5 separate regions of the Homo sapiens genome follow, and all the other regions are linked to region 1. The links are contacts of gene promoters, found by promoter capture Hi-C in human tissues and cell types (Jung and others, 2019). All regions are on one chromosome and are shown on one strand. The core of a region is centred on a gene start or on the middle of the fragment in contact, and the rest is flanking DNA. Distances in the headings are between cores, read along the strand shown.

What was found. The method cuts DNA at HindIII sites, captures the fragments that hold promoters and counts their contacts. A contact is called where the count stands out against the background at its distance.
Region 2: a contact is called between a fragment that was not itself captured here and the fragment with the promoter of DNAJB5 in region 1, in 1 of the 25 tissues and cell types used here (spleen).
Region 3: a contact is called between a fragment that was not itself captured here and the fragment with the promoter of DNAJB5 in region 1, in 1 of the 25 tissues and cell types used here (dorsolateral prefrontal cortex).
Region 4: a contact is called between the fragment with the promoter of TESK1 here and the fragment with the promoter of DNAJB5 in region 1, in 1 of the 25 tissues and cell types used here (spleen).
Region 5: the fragment with the promoter of FAM219A here is called in contact with the fragment with the promoter of DNAJB5 in region 1 in 1 of the 25 tissues and cell types used here (hippocampus).

Annotation. Positions count from the first base shown.
Region 1 is chr9:34,988,473-34,991,011 of GRCh38, forward strand. DNAJB5 (DnaJ heat shock protein family (Hsp40) member B5) reads left to right here and starts at 1,273. Exons shown (of 5, transcript NM_001349723.3): 1 at 1,273-1,359; 2 at 2,027-2,340. The coding sequence starts at 2,159. DNAJB5-DT (DNAJB5 divergent transcript) reads right to left here and starts at 907. Exons shown (of 2, transcript NR_109756.1): 1 at 687-907. RefSeq lists enhancers at 694-903, 1,458-2,387, 2,388-2,539 and silencers at 1,014-1,513, 1,028-1,176. The HindIII fragment of the contact is 21,862 bases long and covers 1-2,539 here.
Region 2 is chr9:35,894,395-35,896,933 of GRCh38, forward strand. No RefSeq gene overlaps it. Among named protein-coding and RNA genes, the nearest start is that of HRCT1, 11 kb to the right of the region's middle. RefSeq lists an enhancer at 996-1,495. The HindIII fragment of the contact is 7,635 bases long and covers 1-2,539 here.
Region 3 is chr9:35,744,359-35,746,897 of GRCh38, forward strand. GBA2 (glucosylceramidase beta 2) reads right to left here. Exons shown (of 17, transcript NM_020944.3): 2 at 257-348; 3 at 1-54. Among named protein-coding and RNA genes, the nearest start is that of GBA2, 3.6 kb to the right of the region's middle. The HindIII fragment of the contact is 5,426 bases long and covers 1-2,539 here.
Region 4 is chr9:35,603,994-35,606,532 of GRCh38, forward strand. TESK1 (testis associated actin remodelling kinase 1) reads left to right here and starts at 1,269. Exons shown (of 10, transcript NM_006285.3): 1 at 1,269-1,845; 2 at 1,991-2,112; 3 at 2,244-2,292. The coding sequence starts at 1,627. RefSeq lists an enhancer at 505-614 and silencers at 1,095-1,344, 1,375-1,674, 1,695-1,864, 1,799-2,093, 1,875-2,134. The HindIII fragment of the contact is 8,874 bases long and covers 495-2,539 here.
Region 5 is chr9:34,457,308-34,459,846 of GRCh38, forward strand. It overlaps FAM219A (family with sequence similarity 219 member A), which reads right to left and starts at 1,263. Exons shown (of 6, transcript NM_001184940.2): 1 at 897-1,263. The coding sequence starts at 956. DNAI1 (dynein axonemal intermediate chain 1) reads left to right here and starts at 1,498. Exons shown (of 20, transcript NM_012144.4): 1 at 1,498-1,746. The coding sequence starts at 1,699. RefSeq lists a silencer at 935-1,184 and enhancers at 1,061-1,601, 1,164-1,458, 1,555-1,624. The HindIII fragment of the contact is 10,660 bases long and covers 1-2,539 here.

The DNA of each region.
Region 1 (2,539 bases), core at 23-2,522:
TACTCCCTCCCCACCCCCGCTCCCTCGAGCACAGATGGGCCTGGGAGACAGTGACGTGGGCGCCAGGCACCGTGTCTGCTGGAGTGGCGGCTTCCGCTGGCGACCGCCTCCGCAGCCCCGCCTGCTCCCTGCATCGGGGACACTGGGGCTGAGATCTAATGACTTAATGGGGGGTGGGGGAGACTAGAGATTCTGAGGGTGTTAAGGAAGGGGATCTTGGGGAGTGAGATGAAAGATGAAAGGGGAGAGCTAGGATAGGAGATCGGGGTGTAAAGAAAGAACCAAGAATAAGACAAAAGGGATCACTGCGGGAAGGAAGACAGGAGATCATCTAGGGCCAAGAAGGAAAGGGCTAAAACACAGGCACTCCAGGGGGAAGCAGGATGAGAGACTGATTAGAAGAGGGACTGAAATGGAGACCGCGGGGTCGCTGAAGAGGGGCGCGAGGATGAGGGGCTGTACAGAGGGTGGGCGGGGGAGATTCCTGGAGGCACCGGCCTGGGCAGAGCCATCCGTTTCCCTCGGGGGAGAGGTCCGGGGGGCTCTGAAACCCGGCATCCGTGGGGTCTGTTAGAGATTCCGTTAGGTCACATCAGGCCACCGCGGGGTCAGGATAAGGTAAAGCTAAATGAGGTCAGCTTGAGGTGGTTACACCGTTGGCTGAAAGGCGAGTAAGAAGTGCTGACCTTTTGGCCCCGGTCCAGGGACTACACCTCCCAGAGTGCACTGTTCTCTCCCTCTTGCCCCCCAATGAAGAAAGGAAAGAATGCACGGCCGCACGGCCAACTGGTGGGTACAGTTTTCCTTTAAGGCTGCCTTTGACGTCGCAAGGGTTCCAGAAGGTTCTCCTGGGATTCGAGCAGTGGCCAGTACGTCCCACCTTCTCAACCCGGAGATTGGACTAATATAGTTTGCCCCCGGGCTCGGGTCTGAGTCTCAGGCACGAACCAATAAAATCAAAGGGCGAGCGAGGTTGCCGCCCTCTGTCTTTTTCACCAATGGCACGACAAGATGGCAAAGAGGCGTGGTTGAGTGATCCCAGAGGGCGCCAATCAGATCCACACCAATCACTGCCTGGAATGTGTGCGCGTGTGGCCGGGTGACAGGGGCGGAGGATGGGCGGCTATCACCAAGCCGCTTGTTGAAAACTGCCCAATCACAGTGGAGGCTGAGCTGAGTGACAGGAAGACGGTTCAATGGGCGGCGCGGAGGCGGAGCCGTGGGGGCGGGCTCCCGGTCCCGCTATCGGCGGCCGGCGGGCAGGCGACTCCTGTCCCGGGTGGAGGCGGCGGAGCCGGAGCCGGGGGAGGGGGCAGCGGCTGTCTCACGGACCACGGCGGCGCCCGCAGCTCCTCACCGGTGAGGGCGCCAAGCCAGGACTCGGGGGTCCCGGGAGCGGGGCGTCGTGAAGCCAGGGCTCCTGGTGTTGGGGGGTTGGGACACTGAGGGCCCGTAGGCTCTGCTGCCTTGGGGATGCGGGGCCCCGGGGTCTGCAGGGTGCTCGGAGTCCTAGACCAGGGCTTGGCTGTCACAGGGGGCAGCCAGCGTCTGAGTCGGGGAGGGGAGGGGAGGGGAGGGTCGAGTCGGACCGGACCAGATTGGGTTCTGTGGGGCGGAGGCATCTGTGAGCAGACCAGCCAGCCAGCGCGGGTGACATCACCGACCACCCTCCCCCGCCCGAGCCCCCTCCCCTCCTCTCCTCGCCGCGCCTTTTGTCCCGGCCGAGCTCCGCTCTGCCCCGCCCATCTGCGAGGGAGGAGACTCCCGTCAGTGACTTCATTGAGTAGGTTCTTGGGGATTGGGGTCGGGTCCTCCCCAGTGAGAGGCGACAGGAGCTCACTGCCTCTCGGGCCCTCACAATCACACCTGTCACAGGTATACACGCTGCCACTCACAAACACACGCTTGCACTCCCAGCCTCACTGACACGCTGCCATACAGCCGCTCACAGCCAGCCAGACACTGCTGCACCTGAGAGCAGGTGGCCGCGGGTCTTCTCCCTTCACTCTCCACATTTGGGGATCAGGTCCGGCACCTGCTGCGCCAGACAGGCCTTGCTGGGCACGCGCCTCTGAGAGTCCAAGGAGGTGGCTTCCAGAGCTGCAGCACTTCAGGCCGGCTCCGGTGGAGCGATCAGAGGTGAGGGGCTTGGCTGGGCATGTTTAAGCGCACAGTGCTCTCCTGCCCACCCCCAGCAGCACCCCCACTGCAGGCCCGAGGAGCTTTCCGGAGCTTCCCACACTCCTGGGGAGAAGACTTCTTAGCCAGCTTGATGTTTAAAATTCAGCTGGAGCCCTTAAAACTTCGAGCGTGGACGCTGAATGGGTTTGTAAAGTTTCGGTAAGTCCCTCCGGAGAAGGGCACTCACACCCATACCCAGTCAAACCCTCCACGCGGCCATCCCCTCCATTGCCTTCCTGCTTCCTCCAACTCATCCTCATCCCCTCTGTGACATACAGGAACCCCCCTCCGGCCTCACCCACATATTTGAATGAATTGCACCCCTTATCATTCCTTTTCTCAAACCCTTCAGGTATCC
Region 2 (2,539 bases), core at 19-2,518, 910 kb after region 1:
CTCCTGAGTAGTTGGGATTACACACCCAGCTATTTTTTTGTATTTTTAGTAGATATGGGGTTTCACCATGTTGGTCAGGCTGGTCTCGAATTCCTGATCTTAGGTGATCCACCCACCTTGGCCTCCCAAAGTGCTGGGATTACAGGGGTGAGCCACCATGCCGGGCAACAGTGAGAGCTTTAACTCTCTAAGCCTCCTATGTAATGTGAGGACAATAGGTTTGTTGTGAGATCTAAAGATACATTTGTAAAGTGTAATTATTCTAGCAATTATTAAAATAGTTGGGGAGGAAAAGGAAAGGAGATTATTGCTTATGAATGACTCCTTTTGTGCTTTCCTTGTGAATATTTAGGTCCCAGAATTTACCCAGTGTGTTGTAATAATTTATATTTCTGTCTCCTGTCCTAGGTAAAAAGCTCTTGGAAGGCATGGATTGTCTTTTTTCTACCCAGCCTCAGCACCAGGCACAGAGTCTAGTTCAACAGATGTTAGTTATATCAATGAATATAATTCTAAGTGTCACAATTATCTTTAGATAATGATTTCAGAAAATTACAGAGACTTGAAAATCCAGAGAGCAATAAATCTTAGACTGCACAGATTCAATCTGTCTCCAGTTCTTCCCTCGTTGTGCATGAGGGCAAACTTAGGCTCAAGAAAGTTCACTATGTTTACTGCATATACATGTCTCAAAGCCCATGGACATGCTGCCCAGGGAAGGCAGGAGAAGCAGTCCCCTTGGATTAATCAGCTCCCACACATCCCCAAGGACAGTGAATCTAGGAGACCTCTTCCACCTGTTGGCATCTTTTTTTTTTTTTTTTGAGACAGAGTCTCGCTCTGTCACCCAGGCTGGAGCACAGTGGCGCGATCTCGGCTCACTGCAACCTCTGCCTCCCGGGTTCAAGCGATTCTCCTGCCTTGGCCTCCTGAGTAGCTGAGACTACAGGCGCACGCCGCCACACCTGGCTAATTTTTTTGTATTTTAGTAGAGATGGGGTTTCATTGTGTCGCCCAGGCTGGTTGCGAACTCCTGAGCTCAGGCAATCCGCCGCCCTTGGCCTGCGAAAGTGCTAGGATTGCAGGCATGAGCCACCGCGCCTGGCTGGCATCTTTAAAATGACACCAATGAAGCTTATGATTCTGGGGTCTAGCTGCTCTCTTCGTTGGTGAATAGGTGGATCACTTTGCAGACCTGTTCTACTTGGTGGGCATGCTTCTGAATATTTTTCTAAAGGTGCTGTAACTTTTGTTGCTTTCATTATTATACAAGTAAAATGTTTATTGTTGCAAGTTTTAGAAATGTAGAAATGCCAAATAAAAAGCAGTCACCTGCAAACTCACTGCTCAGAGGAAGCCCTATAAAGATTGCATCTTGTAGCTCTTCAGACTTCTGTCTGTGCGTGTTTATAGGTGTAACACAAACATTGCCAGCACTAACCACCCTGCATGTACAAATGAGGTCACATTTTCATGAATTCCTAGATTTTGCAGACCACACTCCCCATCCAAATAACATCAGTGCCTCAGTGTATTCACCTCTAGCCCTGTCTTCCTGTAGCCTTCCCCATTTGTTTTTGAAGCTCCCTAGCAGCTGCTGCACACATTTTGCACTTCATGCCTTTCTTCTCTCTCCTTCCCATCATCCTTTGGGGCCAGAAGGAACCAGGCTTCTCCCAGGCCTGGATATCATGGCCTCCATCTACCTTAGAGCTTCAAACTTCGGCTACATGGCTGTCGCATGTGGAATGGAGGAGCTTTCTACGTTATAGGAGATCTGCATGGGCTGGGTCCTCGTTTGGTCCTTGATTCAGTGTGTTGAAAGGGAGAGAAAAAAGAATTTGGAAAATCCTCTTAGGAAACTGGCTTGACTTACAGGGCAAAGTCCAATTTTGAAGGTCAAAGACTGCATGCATATTAAAGTCCTTCTCCTTGCATTCTTTTTGTAATAATTCAACTCTCTCTCCAGACAAATGCTCTGGAACAACTAGGAAGAAACTTACATATTTGGAAAAGTAACTTTAAAGAGCAGGTTATCAGTCTAGGCAACATAGCGAGACCACGTCTCTACAAAGAATAAAAAAGTTAGCCAGACGTGGTGGCACACACCTGGAGTCCCAGCTACTTGGGAGGCTGAGGCGGGAGGATTGTTTGGGAGGAGGTAGAGGCTGCAGTGAGCTCTGATCATGCCACTGCACTCTAGCCTGGGCAACAGAGCAAGATCCTATCTCAAAAAAAGTATATTACTACTTTTCAAAAATATTACCTCTATAGCATATAAGAATTTATTTAACAGATGCTTGTGGCAGGTTGTTTGCAAGTCTCACAGGATCCATATCCCCTGAAGTGCAGCCTGGACTATAATGCGGGCTCCTCCCTTTCAGACACATGGTGTGGTGCTTCGGTTAGTCAGGTCTTCTTTCACAGCTGTCAGTGAAGACTTGCTTTTTCTTTTGTTCATTGGTCTTCCACATCTCTTGTTAAGTTTATTCTTGTTTGTTCTTAGAAGTTTTATAATTTTTGTTTTAAGTTTCAATAA
Region 3 (2,539 bases), core at 20-2,519, 760 kb after region 1:
GGCCTCTCCAGCCACGGGTAATAGTGCCTCCCCCGATGCCACCCAAGGGACAACCTAGAGAAATCAGGGTGGTTAGTGGGGTATTGGGAGAGGAAAATAAGCCCATTTCTAACTTTCTAGACTATAAAGCCTGGTTCCTCTGAAAACCTAGGGGATGGAACAGTGCAATTTGCATAAGCTGGAAGTCTCTTCCTAACTGTGGTAGACCTGGAGGCTAGGCCTTCTCTGAGCAGAGCAGAGATGGGGTGGGGCTCACCATAAATCTGTCTTAGGGGTACAGAATTGATCATGTCGATGAAAGGTGTCTTCTTTTCCACATGGGTCTTCCGGTACCACCACTGCAGGTACCTGAGGAGCAAGAGGCAATGTGAGTGGAAGGGGGCAGGTGGGCAGCTGTTCACAGGCTGAGTCACCTGCCTCTCTCTGTGACCTCCCATTAAATGTCCCAAGGACATCTGCTTTCAAACCTTTCTTCCTCTTGATTTCTATACAGTTCAAGGTCCCTTCATCTTCCCAGTCACCCCAGCTGAAGTGAAGGAGTGGCTTTGTTTCTCTCCTTTGTTCTCCTCAGAAGGGGCTTTCTGATCTCTCCTTACCTCTCTAGCACCACCACCACTGCTTTATTTCCAACATCAGGAGCTTCTGTCTGACGTGCTGAAAGGACCATTTATGGTTTCCTGGCCTACAGCCTCCGCCCCCAATCCCCTACCTCCAAAACAGGCATAGGCTGCTGGGAATAACTTTCTTATCTTTATTTTTATTATTTATTATTTTTTTTTTGAGACAGAGTTTCGTTCCTTGTTGTCCAGGCTGGAGTGCAGTGGCTCGGTCTTGGCTCACTGCAAACTCCGCCTCCCAAGTTCAAGAAATTCTTCTGCCTCAGCCTCCCAAGTAGCTGGGATTACAGGTGCCCGCCACCATGCCTGGCACATTTTTTTGTGTTTTTAGTAGAGATGGGGTTTCACCATGTTAGCCAGGCTGGTCTTGAACTCCTGACCTCAGGTGATCCGCCCGCCTCGGCCTCCCAAAGTGCTGGGATTAGAGGCGTGAGCTACCGCTTCTGGCCTTTCTTCTTTTTAAAATGATCATTTTTCTTTCTAATTATGAAAGGTGAAAGGGGGAAAAAAATAATCTCACCCATAGACAATCAGTGTTTATATTTATTTCTGGACATTTCCTCTCAAGCCTTTTTTTTTTTTTTTTTTAAATTCAACATTTAAACTGTGAAGCTTTCTGATTTTGCTCTTGGTAAAGCCTTCAAAAAATCCCAACATTTTCCTGGGCTTGGTACAGCCCTATATCCAAGAGGCAAATGATTGAGGCTGTTTTCAATAGGCAAACGATTCTGTTTTCAAGGCTCTGACATCTGTCCCAGCCTATCTTCTAATCTTATTTCCTACAAATTCTCATTCCAGATGGGTCCTCACTAAGTAGCCCCTGCCCTGCCAGACTCTTTCCCATTTCCACTCTCCTGCCTACTGCCACATTATGCCTACTGTTCAGTCACACCACTTCTAACCAAATAATTGGGTAAGTAACCCCTAAGTCCCAGTTTCCTCATCTACAAAATGGGGATACCACCTGCTCTAGCTATCTAATGAAATGGTTGAAAGATCAAATGACATAATAGATAAGAAAGCCATAAAGTACAGGTATGATTATTACTCATATATACAAACTGTTATCTCAATTCCTAATCAGACATTGCCTTGTTATTTCAATGTTCCTCATGTGAGGCTGACATACTTTTAAGTTCCTTGGGGAAAGGGACAATGACAAAGACTAGCTGAATATTACCCTCAGGTCCAAGCACAGGGTAGGACATATGGTCTGCAGTCAATGCATATTTGCCAATTTTACAGATGAATGAACATACAAATGATGGGGCACAAGAGAGATAACAGACTGGAGCAGAGGAGAAGAAATGTGATTAATGAATAGGGACAGCGGCCAGGCACGGTGGCTCACACCTGTAATCCCAGCACTTTGAGAGGCCGAGGTGGGCGGATCACGTGAGGTCAGGAGTTCAAGACCAGCCTGGCCAATGTGGTGAAACCCCGTCTCTACTAAAAATACAAAAACATTAGCCAGCTGTGGTGGCAGGCACCTGCAATCCCAGCTACTCAGGAGGCTGAGGCAGGAGAATCGCTTGAACCCAGGAGACGGAGGTTGCACTGAGCTGAGATTGCACCATTGTACTCCAGCCTGGGTGACAAGAGCAAGACTGTCTCAAAAAAAAAATAATAATAAAATAAAAAGGGACAGCACATTCTAGGGGTGGAAAGAAGAGGGAAGACAAAGGATGGGATGACAGGAAGGCAGAGAATCCTCTCTGCCAGCTTAGAGAAAACCGGACTTTGAAACTAGAGACCAGAAAGGACTGGTAGAGGGAGGGTGTGGCCGAGGATTAGGGCAACCAGGGAGAGTAACTGCAATCTATGAGGACAGACAGAACAAAGGACTATCTGGCATGGAACAAGCACTCAATAAATATTTATTGAATGAGTGGACTCTGGCTGGAAGGGAGAACAATTGAAAT
Region 4 (2,539 bases), core at 19-2,518, 620 kb after region 1:
CCTGCCTCCGCACTCGAGACGGCAGCTTTCTCTCCCTCCGCCCACCGTTCCGCCGCTAGGTGGCAGGCGGCTCAACGACGCCCTTTTAAACCGTTTGCCCCGGAGTGGACCGCCGGGATCGCGTGTCACCACCCAACCCTAGCGATGATTGGCTATTTCGCCGAGGCCGGAGGAGGAACCAGCGGCAGAACCGGAAGCGTCTGGTACGGCGAGTGCACGGAGTCCTGAGACTGCGTGCGCACCCAGGCACCGCGCCGACTTAAAGAGGCCAGTTGCAGCCCCTCCTCCGGCCTTAGGGGGCAGACCGTGTTCCTACGTGGAGGGCGGAACCCTCACACTGAGGAGGGCTGGGTCACACTGAGGGGAGGAGTCACCTTGAGAGGAGGGGTCACAATGACTAGTGGATTTCCTCGGAGGTGGGGTCTCACTGCGTGGGAGGAACACAGAGCAAGGGGGTGCAGCACTGAGGGGTTCTGACACACTGACGGTGGCAGTGCCACACTGGGGAAAAGTGCCCCCGAAAGGGAGGTGTCTCACTGAGGAAGGGAGGGGTCTCCGAGGGACAGCGTTCTTTGAGGGGGGTGGGATCTTGCGGAAGGACGGGCTTCCCTGCAGGTGGAGGCTTCTCTCTTAGAGTCTTTTGGGCAAAGTAGTAAGAGGGAGGTCCCGGCTGGGTGGTCACAGGGCGGAGGACCTGGACTCTCTTCTTTATTGGGAGGCGGCAGGATGAAGTGAGGAGGAGTCGGGGCTAAGCTGGGTATGGGCCGGCCAAAGGCTTCCTATAGCCCCGGGGTATCACAACCTCCCGTGAAGGTAGAAGGTGTTAGGGAGGCCAGAGGTTCAAGGTGTCGGAGTCGAAGAGACCTGGGAAATGGGCAGGCTGGGCCGGGGCGCAGGCCAGGAAGGTGGACAGGTTGCTAGGCTACCTCTGATTGCGGCTGGGCCTGAGGGGCCTACCTTTCTGCCCCGTTGGTCCCTGGAGCCCAGGAATCCGGCAGGTTTCTGAGCCCGACCCTCAACGGACAGTAACCCAGGGAGGAGAGGGGACTCCCTGGGCAGCTAAGCTTCGCATGCGCACCATCAGCCCTTAATTCCCTCCCGTTATTCAAGCTCAGGCCGGAGCTTATTTGACCCGGGCGGCCCAGGGCATCGCGGCCGGAAAGCGGGGAGGCGGGGGTGCGCACCTGAGGGGGCGTGGCCGCTGCCGGGAGGCCGGGCTGGAAGGAGTTAAGCGGAGGCCCGGCCCAGCCCCGCCCCCGGCAGGCCGCGGAGCCTGATCCCCGGCGGCTAAGCGGAGCAGCCGCCGCCCGCCCGCCCGCCCGCCTCCGCCCGCGGCAAGCCAGCCCGCCGGCGCCCCGGAGCGCTGCCGCCACCGTCACCGCCACCGCCCGGTCCAGGCCCAAGCCCAGGCCCTGCGCGGAGCGGAGCGGCGCGGCGTCCACCCGGGCCCAGCCAGCCGGCGCGGCGGGGGCGGGTCCAGGATCTTCGGCGGATCTTCCATTCTCAGGGCGGGAGCCGGAGTCCGGGCGCCCGGGATCGGGCTGGGCCCGCGCCCATGGCAAGCGCGGCCTGCCCGGGCCCTGGGGACCCTGCCATGTGAGGCAGGCCCGGGCTGGGGGCCCGGCCATGGCCGGGGAACGGCCCCCACTGCGGGGCCCTGGGCCCGGGCCTGGAGAGGTGCCGGGGGAGGGGCCCCCGGGGCCGGGGGGCACGGGCGGAGGCCCGGGCCGGGGCCGCCCCTCCTCCTACCGGGCTCTCCGCAGCGCCGTGTCTAGCCTGGCGCGTGTGGACGATTTTCACTGCGCGGAGAAGATCGGGGCCGGCTTCTTCTCTGAGGTCTACAAGGTAGGACCGGCCGAGAGGGCAGAGGGGCGGGACCGAGCCTTCAACCAGAGGCTGAAACTAGGGGGCCGGGAGTGCGGGGAAGAGGGTCCAGACTCCGGCGACCCGCCCGACCTGCCCGGCCCTCGCCGGCTGCTCCTGCCCCCAGGTTCGGCACCGACAGTCAGGGCAAGTCATGGTGCTGAAGATGAACAAGCTCCCCAGTAACCGGGGCAACACACTACGGGAAGTGCAGCTGATGAACCGGCTCAGGCACCCCAACATCCTAAGGTGAGCGGCCCCAGTCTCTGGGCAGCTTGCTGGGCGGGAGAGAAAGGGAAAGATCCCGCGGGAAAAGTGGAACTGAGGAGGAGCTGAGGCCTTTAATAGCCTATCCTTCTATCTTCCCCATCCTCTTGCAGGTTCATGGGAGTCTGTGTGCACCAGGGACAGCTGCACGCTCTTACAGAGGTGAGGATAGGCCAGGAAGGAGGGATCCCCACCCCCCTTCACCCCCAAGGATAAAGGGAGTCAACAGGCCTGGTGGATCTACGGAGGACTAGTGAGAGGCAACAGGATCTCCTCTCAGGGGAGGCTTTCCTGAACTTTCCTTTAGGCAAACCACATATAAAAGGCCTCAACTGGTCTTATTCTCTGTATCCCCTAGAACAGTGCTGTCCAATAGAATTTTCTTCAGTGACGGAAATGTTCTCTATCT
Region 5 (2,539 bases), core at 13-2,512, 530 kb before region 1:
GCCAGCAAGCATGGTCTCCCTTAGGCCTAGCCTCGGTGCACCCGAGTTGCCCTCCCCCTTCCATTCCCTCCGCGCCAGCAGCGATGACATCATTCCTCCCTGACTCCGGGACCGCGGACAGGCGGCAGGATCCGCGCCCAGCAAGGACTTCAGGCACGTAGGCCTAAGATGATGGGGGCTCTTCCCAACCAGTGCGCACAGGCAGCTCCAGCGCGACCCCACTTCCTCTCCCGTCGGTTCCCGAGCACTCTCATCTGCACCCCGATTCCCCATCTGGTCGCCGCGCACTCTCCTTCCCGGTTTAGATGCCCCCAGCCTGGTCTGCCTGCGCTCCCCACCGGAGAACGGAATTCCCAGGTTCTGCACCAACCACCTTCCCCCACTGGGTCCCTCGCCCCGGCCCAGCGTTCCTGTCCGTATATCCAGCGGACAGGCGGGCAAGCCCCTCCTCTTCTAAAAGCTGATTCCCAATCTCTCTTAGCCTGACGGCTCCCCCGCCCTAAGCATCACAGGCCTCTAGGACTAAACGCCTCCCCACCTCCCATCCCAGACCCCTGGGCCTGCCGCCGGCGGTGCCCCATGGCAGTTCCCTCGCCAGTCCCTGCTATGGGCCTCCACTAGCGGTGTGCACCTTTGTGCCCCCTCCGTTCCATCCGACGGTGCCCTGCTTCCACCGACGGTGCCCTCCGCCCTTACAGGTCCCTTTGCTCTCATCCAGCATATTCTCCCACGGTTTTCTTGTCCTGCAAGTCCCCGTCCCCCGGCAATACGTTTTCAGGGATCTCTTTGCCCCATCCGATGGCGCCCCTCCGCACGATCCCCCCGGCCTGATTCCCTCCCTCCCCCTCAAGCGACGCCCCCTCCGGCCTTGGCCTGCCCGCCGCCCGCCCCCTCACCAGCGGCTGCATCTCCGAGTGCGCGGTGGGCACCTGGAACCGGTCGATCTCCTCCATCATGGTGCCGGCGGGCGAGCGGGCCAGGGGCCGGGCGCGGCCGCGGACGCCGACAGGACCGCGCGGGGCGGCGGCCCCAGGAGCCCGGCGGGTGGTGCAGACTAGGCCTCCCCGGACCACTCGGGCGGGCAGGGGCCGGGCGGATGCAGGGGTGGGCGGGGGCGAGAGGTTCGCAGACTGGCTGAGGCCGGCGTGACTCCGTGGGCTTGCCTAGCACTACCGCGGCTGTGGCCGGGCCGAGCCGCAGGTCTTGCCTCGCCTCCTACTCCGCTGCCGCCTCCTGTCAGCAGCTCAGCCACTGCGGTGACTCGGCAACTCCACTTCCGGGTCCGGGACACCGCCCGGATCTTGCATTATTCATGAGGAGGCGGTGCCTGGGGACCCCAGCCCCACCCACATGCGGGAGTTCCGAATGCGCGCGGCCGCCCAGCTGTGATTCCTGAGGGGGCGGGGCTTAGTGGAGACTCGCTCGCCGCGCGCCCAACCCCGCCTCCTTTCCGGGCCGGCTGGGCGCGCCGAAGCGCCTGCGCCTTGGCTGCTGGTCGGTTGCTGGGTAACCGCGTCAGGGAGTTGGATTCTATCCTGCAAGGGCACGGGGACCCACAACGACGGCTGTCCCTAAAGAACCGTTGCGACTGGTAACTGAAGTGGAAGAGAGTCCAGATTTCTTGTGTGTGGTCAAGGAGACGGACAAACTTTTTGTCTTCAGACGAGGGAGCGTTTTGTAGGCTCTCCAGGGGTTGAGATGATTCCTGCTTCTGCGAAGGCTCCCCATAAACAGCCTCATAAGCAGGTAACGTACGCACACCTTCCTTCTGATGACCTCTGACCTTCGTCGTCGCCAGTGACCACTAATCATACCTCTCCTACTGATCCTTGATCTTTTCTCTGTTGACCCCAGCCTTCTCACCCCCGTGACCTCTGGTAAGTGCTCCCACTGACCTCTGACTCTGTCCTACTCTTTCCCACTAATCCCGGCCTCCTCTCCCATACTACCCCAATCCACCGTTTCTTACCTCTCTCCTTTTATCCACCATTCCCATCTCTTCACTTCACTTTACCCCATGGACTCATTCTGACCAGTCTATTCTCCTTAACTTCCCCATCCCCATTCCCACGAGTCCCTTCCTCCTTGTTCTCACATTCTTGTCCCAAAGGAATTTTTCTTTTTCTTTTTCTTTCTTTCTTTCTTTTTTTTTTTTTGAGACAGAGGCTCGCCCTGTAGCCCAGGCTAGAATGCAGTGGCGCCATCTCAGCTCTCTGTAACCTCTGCCTCCTGGGTGCAAGCGATTCTCCCACTTCAGCCTGACGAATAGCTGGAACCAAAGGCATAGGCCACCACGCCCGGCTAAATTTTGTGTTTTTGGTAGAGACGGGGTTTCCCCATGTTGCCCAGGCCCGTCTCTAACTCCTGAGCTCAAGCGATCCTCCTACCTTGACCTTCCGAAGTGCTGGGATTACAGGCGTGAGCCACGGCGCCCAGCCTCAAAGGCATTCTTTATCCAACCCTTTGCTGTGTGCCTAGCTCCAGGCTAGGTGGGAACACAGCTCTTGCTGTTTGGGAGCCCACAGAGGGTGTGCAAGAG